3 separate regions of the Homo sapiens genome follow, and regions 1 and 3 are each linked to region 2. Evidence: promoter capture Hi-C in human tissues and cell types (Jung and others, 2019). All regions are on one chromosome and are shown on one strand. Each heading gives the region's core, a stretch centred on a gene start or on the middle of the fragment in contact. The rest is flanking DNA. Distances are from core to core; before and after follow the strand shown.

The links. Contacts are between HindIII fragments. The study calls those that stand out against the background at their distance.
Region 1: a fragment that was not itself captured here is called in contact with the fragment with the promoter of LRRC30 in region 2 in 2 of the 25 tissues and cell types used here (dorsolateral prefrontal cortex and lymphoblastoid cells).
Region 3: a fragment that was not itself captured here is called in contact with the fragment with the promoter of LRRC30 in region 2 in 1 of the 25 tissues and cell types used here (H1 embryonic stem cells).

The regions. Positions count from the first base shown.
Region 1 is chr18:8,079,163-8,082,234 of GRCh38, reverse strand. The region is part of intron 9 of PTPRM (protein tyrosine phosphatase receptor type M); the gene reads right to left. Among named protein-coding and RNA genes, the nearest start is that of PTPRM, 510 kb to the right of the region's middle. The HindIII fragment of the contact is 3,817 bases long and covers 1-3,072 here.
Region 2 is chr18:7,229,417-7,232,400 of GRCh38, reverse strand. LRRC30 (leucine rich repeat containing 30) reads right to left here and starts at 1,312. Exons shown (of 1, transcript NM_001105581.3): 1 at 357-1,312. The coding sequence starts at 1,262. The coding sequence ends at 357. The HindIII fragment of the contact is 10,232 bases long and covers 1-2,984 here.
Region 3 is chr18:7,785,599-7,788,458 of GRCh38, reverse strand. All of the region lies in intron 2 of PTPRM (protein tyrosine phosphatase receptor type M), which reads right to left. Among named protein-coding and RNA genes, the nearest start is that of PTPRM, 220 kb to the right of the region's middle. The HindIII fragment of the contact is 4,887 bases long and covers 1-2,860 here.

The DNA of each region.
Region 1 (3,072 bases), core at 146-2,645, 850 kb before region 2:
ATTTCATGTAATTGTATCTTCTTTCTGAGGAGTGACTGATGTCTTATTCTTTTCCTGATCCCACTGTGATCAGTAAATATTTGGCACTCAGTATCTATTTTCCTAAAACTACTCCTGGGGAGAGCGGGTGTGTGCATCCGCTCATGTAAACACTCAAGACAAGTGGGATCTTTGCTCCACCCACAGAGACTATCAAGCAAACGCTTTACTAAGGGACTTGTTGTTCCAGCAGGGCTGATGGGCTTGGACTTGCTGAAAGCCTTGTGGCTGCAAAATAACACTGGGGTTCTTAGCTGGCTTCCAGTCATAGCCCTTTGACAATTTGGTAAAAATTAGACACCTTCTCTTTCCTACTTCTAAAAAACACATGTATACACTAATTCATGCACTCCTAAAAATTACAGATCCTCTCCCTCACGCCTAACAAACAAATATGTTGGGCATGTATATGTCCACCAAATGTCACAAAGGTGATGGGTTTCCCCATCTCAGACCCATCCACAGAGCCCTGGAGTCTGAATATCAGAATGAGAAAAGCTTCTCGGCAGCAGGGGCACTCTAACTCTACAACCCCACTGCCTGCCACAGAGCTGATGGTAGACATTCACCAACCTCAGCAGCTGCTCTAAAGGGCACCAAAATATACTCCCATGCTCAAACTCAAATGTCCATATGGTTTCAGCTTTACTTTTCCACTTGTTCATTCAATACATGCTTATTAAGTGCCTGTTAAGTACTTCAGTACAGCAGCAAACTACAAGAAGGAAGTCTGGAAGCTTCTGTACTTGTACTCTGTCCCTGGCTGAAGGTCCAGGAAACTGTAATGAAGCCTCTGTAAAAAACGTTGCTGCAGCAGTGTTGGATGTAAGTAATTTTATGGGAGGTGCCATGTCAAAAGCAAACTGAGATCTCAACATCATGTGTGAGGGTTAGATTTGGGTGAGATGGAGTAAACTGTTGCTTCTATTGGATGATTTCTGATTTGCAGGTAAGTGCCTGAAATCTTCCAAAATTGTCTTCCCTTTCTCTACTTAAAGCCTCAAATTCTAAACTGAGAGATTCATGGGAAACCAAGATAGAATAACATGCAATCTTTGACTTGCATGTTATAGAAGAGGGGAATCAAAATCTTCTAGACTGTGAGTTGATGGTAATTCCAGCCAGCATAAAACACCATCCTCTAATTGAGGTTTAAGCAATTATTCTGAGAAAACAAAGGAATGAATAATTAAATCTGATTTTAGGGGAGGAAAGGACCTAGGATATTTCAAGGAAAAGTAAAGTACTTGAATAAAATACTGAAAGATAGGCAGAGCTGCTATAGGAGGAGAGCGATGGGATGGCACAGGCAGAATGAATCTAAGCAAAAGCAGGGTGTGTGATGGCTCAGAAGGCTCTTGGCGAAGAGACAATTTCATATACATGGCTCATTGAGTTCCAGAAGAAAAATAGTAGGAGATGGCGTTATAAATATAGATTTGGGTTGGATCACAGAAGCCCTTGAGTATTGAAAACAAACTTCTTAACATGGCCCCTAAATTCTCATTCCCTCTACATAACCACCTATCTCAGCTGATGGTGACTAACAGCCCAGTTATCCAGGCTAAGGATATTAAGGTGTCTTCAACTCTAGACTCTTGAATGTCCCAATCAGCTGGCAAATCTAGACCATTCTACTTGATTAAAGTGCCCAACCAAAACTGCACTTGATACTCTAGTCACACACTCATGTATTGAGTCCCTAAGTTTGGAACTCATTTCATTCTTTCTATAGTTGGTTGCTGATGGGGTAGTTACTTCAACAGAAAAGGAACAGTACCTTTTCTACTTTTGTCTTTTTCCAATATCTCAGACATACTAAAGCTTTTAAAACAATCCATGTGTTAGTCTCATGACCAGGAGTCTGGTATTTACTCACTAGAGATATGTAAAGTTAGTAGGATACAATGAAAATACTTGGGCAAATATCCTTGTACATTGGGGAGTATTACTAATAAACTTCTAGAAATAGGTTTGGCATACTATGTTTACATTTTGATAGAATCTCCCTAATTGCCTACAAAAAAAAAGACTGCAAAATGTGTGTTCCCATCAACAGACTATGCATGTACACATTTCTCCACATCACTGATTAACACTTGATATTATAGAAATTTAAACTTCTGTATCACTTGTAATACTCCATTTCTCAATCATTAGTAAGGCTGGGTAGGTACTTTACCATATACTTACATGCTGGGTGAATTTTTTTTTGAAGTGTCTTTGTCCATTTTATTTCCTAAAAGAGTGTTTTGTTTTTTTCTTATTACTACGTAGCAGGTCTCTATATATTATAGCCACCAGCCTGTTGACTGCTGTAAGTGCTGAAAATAATCTCTCCAAGTCTTCTGTTTGTACTCAGACCTCCTTCATGGTATCTTTCATCATTCAGAAGTTTAAAATTTTATATAACCAAATCTGTCAATCTTTATTTTTAATGACTGCTGAGTTTTATATCAAGCTTAGAAAAATATATAACAAAAATGTCTTCCTACCTTTTTCTTAGAAGGTTCTTCTAAACTTTTGTGTTTAGATCATGAATCTGGTGTTTATTTTTGTATGATGTGAGGTGGGAGTCTCATATGGTATTTTATTCTTGTAATAAAATGCTGGGTTTGATAATATTTATTAAACTGCATCCATTTTATATTCATTAATGAATTTGCACTACAGTTTCTACCTTGTAAAATTTTAGAAGGATGTGTATCTAGCTGTTAATAGTAGTTACATTTGAAAAGTAAAATTCGGAAGCAAGGATATTTTATTTTGAATACTTCTGCACTTACAAGTATTCTTTCAGAGGGCAGTATTAAATTGACAACTCGACAAAATAAGAGATTTTGATAGCTACTGAGTAAAGGTGTAATGATCAGACCCAGGTTGTAGGAAGATGATTGACAAAATTAAATGACTGAGGTGGAGGGTAACGTACGAGAAGGACTTGAGCCAGAACGAAGACAAGGTCAGAGAGGCAAGGCTAGTGCTGGAAGGCTGAGAATGGAGTCAGAGGAGTGAAAAGGAGAAAGCAAGGAA
Region 2 (2,984 bases), core at 63-2,562:
AATATTTGCCTTTTGAATTACATTGAATTCAGACCTGTTAGGTGTCCACTCTCCCAAGGGCTGAATCTCACTGCTCCTCAGAAGAATCAGAACTGTTAGTTCTCTTTGGGGAAAACCAACCCCCTGTTTCAATTTATGTTTAGGATGAGATGAACATGATATTCCAGAGGTTATTAAGAACATACAGAGTTAAAAACAATCACCTCCTTAACGTGGATGTTCAACAGCGACTTAGCAAATATTAACAAAGGTATTGTCAGACACTAAGGATGAGAGTAGAAAGCTGAGACGAGAGAAGTACCCCGGTTGACAGAGTCCAGATGAGCTGCCTCCCATCCAGGCCTCCGGGACCCAGGTCAGGTGTGTTTTTTGTCCTTCAGGTAGCCGAAGAGCATCTCCAGGCCCCCCTCCACCAGCTCCGGCAGAGGCTTGGATAAAGGGTTGTGGGAAATGTGGAGCCCTTTGTCCATGGGATTCCAGGCGATCCTCACCAGTCTACACAGCAGGTGGAGTTCGCTCGGGAGGGTCTGGATGTCATTGTTGTTGAGGTTCAGCAGCTCCAGGCTGGTGACCAGGCAAAGCGACCTCGGGAAGGAGTGGATGTTGTTGCCCTCTGCGATGAAGATCTGCAGGCTGGCCAGGTGCTGGATGCTCTCAGCGATGTTTTCCAGGCGATTCGAGCCCACGTGCAAGAAAATCAGTTCCTTCAGGGAGAACACACACATGGGGATGTGCGCGAAGAAGTTGTTGCTGAGGTTTAGCTTCCTCAGTCTAGAGAGGTCGGCGAAGCATGCAGGGAGCTGGGACAGGCAGTTGTGCGACAAGCTCAGGACCTCCAGCTTTCGGCACAAGCTCAGCTCGGCCGGCACCTCTGTCAGGCAGTTCATGTTGACAAACAGGACCTTGAGGCACTGTAGGAGGCTCACTTCTCTGGGCAGGCTCTTCAGGCGGTTCCCGCACAAGTTCAGGACCACGATCCGGGTCAGTTTCCCCACCTCGGGAGGGAGAACCCGGAGCTGGTTGTGAGACAGATTGAGTTTCTGGACCTCGGACAAGCCCCACAGAAAGTCGGGGATGTCTGTCATTCCTCTCGTGACCAGGCTGAAGCTGACGTGGTGCATGCCCCGCTTCAGCAGGGACCGCGGGTCCCTTCCCGAGAGCAGGGCATCGTCCCACGGAGAAAACTTCTGTCTCCTCCCCGTGAACAGCATCCTCTTGGGGCCCTTATCCTTGGAGCTGGCCCTTGACTGCCTGGCCCCCATTGTACCTTCCCTTCTAGTCACTCTCCTCTGCCACCTCCCAGGCAGGGACCGTGTCCTCTCAGCTGCTAAAAGCCAGGCTGTTGCAGGCAGGGAGTGTGCGTCAGGGTGAGAACCAACTTGTGACTAGGAGGTCCTAGTGTGGAGAAAGCTGCCAGGAGAGTCTTGATCAGGCCTTGCAGGTATCTGAGACAGGTCCCTGGGTGGCTGCAGGAGCTGTGCCTGTTCCCCAGGGTTTAGGTGTTTTCTTTCTTAGCAGCTGGGCTGTAATGATATACTTGTCCAGGAGGCTGCTAAACTGCTCAAATCCCTCTGAATGCCACAAGGCAGCTGTCACTGTCACTCTGCCTGAGTTTTATTGACTGGGTACATGCAAACAGGTCACAGGAAGGCTGCATATAACTTTACTCTCTCAGCTTTTCTTGGGTATCACAGTTGAGCAGGGTGATTAACAAGCCCATCTCTAAAAAGAAGTAAAATGGAAAAACAGAGCAGGCCACACAAGTACGGACTGTTGGCAGGATTGCGGGAGCTCAGCCAGACAACTTTACAGTGAAACTGGGCTGGGTGCTAGTGACAGTTATGTCTCCAAAGCTAAAGATCATCAGATGATATCATAGGTCCCTGTTCCAAACCTTGATGAACTGTGCGTTTGTGAAAAGATAACAAAAGCAGCCCGGATACCTGGAATCTTCCAGGTCAAAGGTTTTTATCCTGTGCTTGTCAGAGGTGATTTAGTGAGAAGGGAGTTGTGGGGGGATCTCAACCCCTCACTCCCATTTCATCCAGAGAAGCTCTGGGCTCATGTGTCTTACAGAGACCTTCTGTATTTAGTAGGATGCACTTTAAGTGTTTGAACAGTCACTTGAGTGGCCACCTTAGTATGGTAAGCGCGGGCCACCTATTGTCCTGGAAGGATATGATGAGGCCCCCCTCGCTACACACCGTTCTCTTTCTCTCTCTCTCTCTTCTCCTCCCTGTCTTTTATTTATTTTTATTTATTTATTTATTTATTTTTCTTTTATTTTTGATGGAGTTTTTGCTCTTGTCGTCCAAGCTGGAGTGCAGTGGCACGATCTCGGCTCACTGGAACCTCTGCCTCCCGGGTTCAAGTGATTCTCCTGCTTCAGCCTCCCAAGCAGCTGGGATTACAGGCACCCACCACCATATCCAGCTAATTTTTGTATTTTTAGTAGAGACGGGGTTTCACCATGTTTGCCAGGATGGTCTTGACCTCCTGATCAAGGCGGGTGGACCTGCCTCGGCCTCCCTGTCTTTTTCTTGAATTAAAAAAGTTAACTTACATCTTAAGTTTGCAGAGTTAATTGTTGGTGTTATGGGCTGAACTGTGTCCCCTCACCCTGCCCTCAAATTTCGTATGCTGAAATTGTAACCCCCAGTATCTCAGAAGGCGCTGGGTTTGGCAATCAGGCCAAGTGAAGACACAGGGAGAAGGCAGCCACCTGCGAGCCAAGGAGAGAGGCCTCAGAAGAAACCAACACCTTGATCTCAGGCTTCCAGTCTCCAGAATTGTGAGAAAAATACATTTCTGTTGGTTAAGCCACCCAGTTTCTTAGAGCAGGTCTGGCAAACTAATATAGTTGGGGAGGAGGCGGACACACATCTGCATAGGTGAAAAATCCTAAAAATAGGTAGTGATTAAGGGGACAAGGGATATCAAGGAGCTGACCTAGGTTCTGAGCAAAGGGCTTGTGGCCCGTGGCA
Region 3 (2,860 bases), core at 208-2,707, 560 kb before region 2:
CCCTCTACCATCCAGAAAGCCTACACCTAATTCTAAGTATATGAATACTACTCATACTTTCATATTTTTCCAAAGCAAAATATTTCATAATCTCAACCTTCATAGAATTAATATTTACAGTTATGTGGCTTCATACAATATAATTTTATGTGCATTATTTCATTTGATAGCCTAGTAAAATAGGCATTTATTAGTATAAAGAGGGACTACTTCTCAAAAACAGGAATGAATTATTTATATTGACTTTATTCAAAAAGAAAAAGAAAACCCTAACACTCAGGGATAGTCTTTTGCAATGCTTCCAAAATCTTTTTCCCTTCTTTCTTTTCCTTCTCAACTTCTCTGAGCCTGTAACTGTAACTTATCGAGGTATGCTCATCACTTAGCATGGCCTAGGTCAGTCGTTTTCAAAGTATCTGCCAGAGACCCCTGAAATCCCTGAGACCCTTTCAGGGAGGCCACAAGGTCAAAACTATTTTCATGATCATAAGAAGACATTATTTGACTTTATTATTCTCAGTTCACGCTCAACTCTCACAGGTCTACACCACTGCTCTCATGCCCAATGGAAGAGATGTTTATGGACTCTTGTGTTTTCAAACTTTCTCAGTTTTAATTTCTAATTCAGAAAATAGAAGTAGATATTACCCACTTGAACAAAAGCTCTGCGGATTTTTCAAAACATTTACAGAGTATAAAGGAGTCCTAAGACCAAAGAGTTAGAGAACCATTCAACAACTCCAAAATCTCAGTGGCATATACAACACAGCTTATTTCTCATTCAGGCACACACCCACTGCAGTCATCTGAGTGTGTGTGAATGTGTGAGGGGCAAGGGAAGGCATTTCTACATCTTCCTCACTCAGGCATCTGGGCTAAAAGCGTCTCAATGCTGCCACAGTCACCATGACAGGAAGAAGGGGAGAGAACACCTTGACTCTCATCCTGGTTCTAGCAGCTTCTGCCTGAAAATAGCACATGTCACTTTCACTCACACTCACCAGCCAAAGCATGTGCAGTAACATCTAAGTCAAATGCAACAGAGATGCCCAATGTTCCCATGTTTCTAGCAGGTGAAAGCTGGAAGCAGTCATTCAACAACGCTGACAACCACAGGGGCTATCTCTTATGACAGTTCATCTCTTCCCAGCATTTTTTCCAGAACTTAATCATCCTCCTGACTCTTCATGGGGTCTAACACCAAACACATTTCAGGCAACATGGGGAGAGATACTATTTAAATATGACACATGCAAGATCACTTATGTAAATTGGGTTTTCTCAAAACCATTGAGAAATATCAAGTGTGGAGAAAATACATTATGGTGAATGCTTCCCAAAGCTAGTATATAATGCTATTGTATCAAGTGGGCCCTCTAAAAGTCTTTGTTTGACTGATGTATAAAACCAATTATTTGTAATAATTTGTGCCATCAACAAATGTCCAACACCTTTTTATAAGAGCAAGACTCAGATCAATTCAAATAAATTAACATTTCTGTCTGAACTGACTCATCCAGCCCAAGTAACAAATTCACATGTCAGTGGTGGGTTGACCCAATGACCCATCTGCTAAAAAATACAAACTGTATCATTTTGTTTTCCAAATAACAAGCATTGATTGCAGTGTTAGAAAGGTCACTTGTCATCAGTTCAGTGGTTGACCTACTGGCAAATTGCAGCCTGTCACTCCACAGTAAGCCAGGACAATCAGGAACTAAGGGATGTTTTGTTTACAGAGTACAATTAGGGAGGTGACACCATTTTCACAAGGTGTGTAATAGGATGCGTCTTCAACAGAGAAAAAAGATGTGTCATGAGAAGGCATATGATGGTTTTCATAATTTCCCAAGATGACTACCAGAAACCTCATTTATTTATACTTACTTTGAAAAGCACTGGATCAAACCTAGTCTGCACCTTCAAGTTTTATGCCAAGGATTTCAATTTTTTATGCATTTTCTATGGGTAACAGAATAAATATAAAAGATACCTCTTTCAAGGAAAGATACAAAGCAAGGAAATATACAATTAAGAAACAACCACATATTAGAGGACTCAAAGCATACAAATAAGGACTGGTCATTTGAAAAACAAATTTCCAGTGACACCCTCTCTAAAAGTGCCACTATATTAATATGCTACCCCACATATCCAATTAGACACTTACTAATGCTGCATAATCAGTTGTTTCAATTTGTCCACCCACCAGACAGAGGCATTACAATTGTCCGGCAGACAATTAATTAAATAGCTATATTTATTTCTCTTTCGACCACTTAAGCTTTTACATATTGCTTTAAGATATAATTCATCACAATCTCCTAGAATAAAGTATCAGTTAACTATGCATTAAAGTCCACTTATTTAAAATAATGATCTGCACAATCATCTAGTGGAGTCTGCCAAGAAATTCTGTATGATTTTTTCTGTATTCAGTCCCATATTATGGATAGGATACAAATGAATGCAAGCATGTATCCAAAAATAAAATGTAATAATTCCTTATGCATTTTCCAACAAAGTTAACCACCAAAATATCTACCAATAGGATAAGAATCTTTATATTTGAGACACCCACTGAGGCATAAAACCATGTGAAGCATTTGTCCTATTTAAGAAAGTCCTAAAATTACACACTTTAAGTTAGTGGCTCCAAATCGGTATTACATAAGTCCATCAGCTCTACTAAACCTCTCCAGTAATGACCAATGATCATCACGATATGCTCAGAAAGTGCAGACGTGGCTCAACCTGGGTTTTGTAAATAAACACTTTCAATGCAATTTGATGGAATAGCATTTTGCCTAAAATGTACCAATGGAGAAAAACTGTGTTGGCATGACACGAAGTCGGTGTA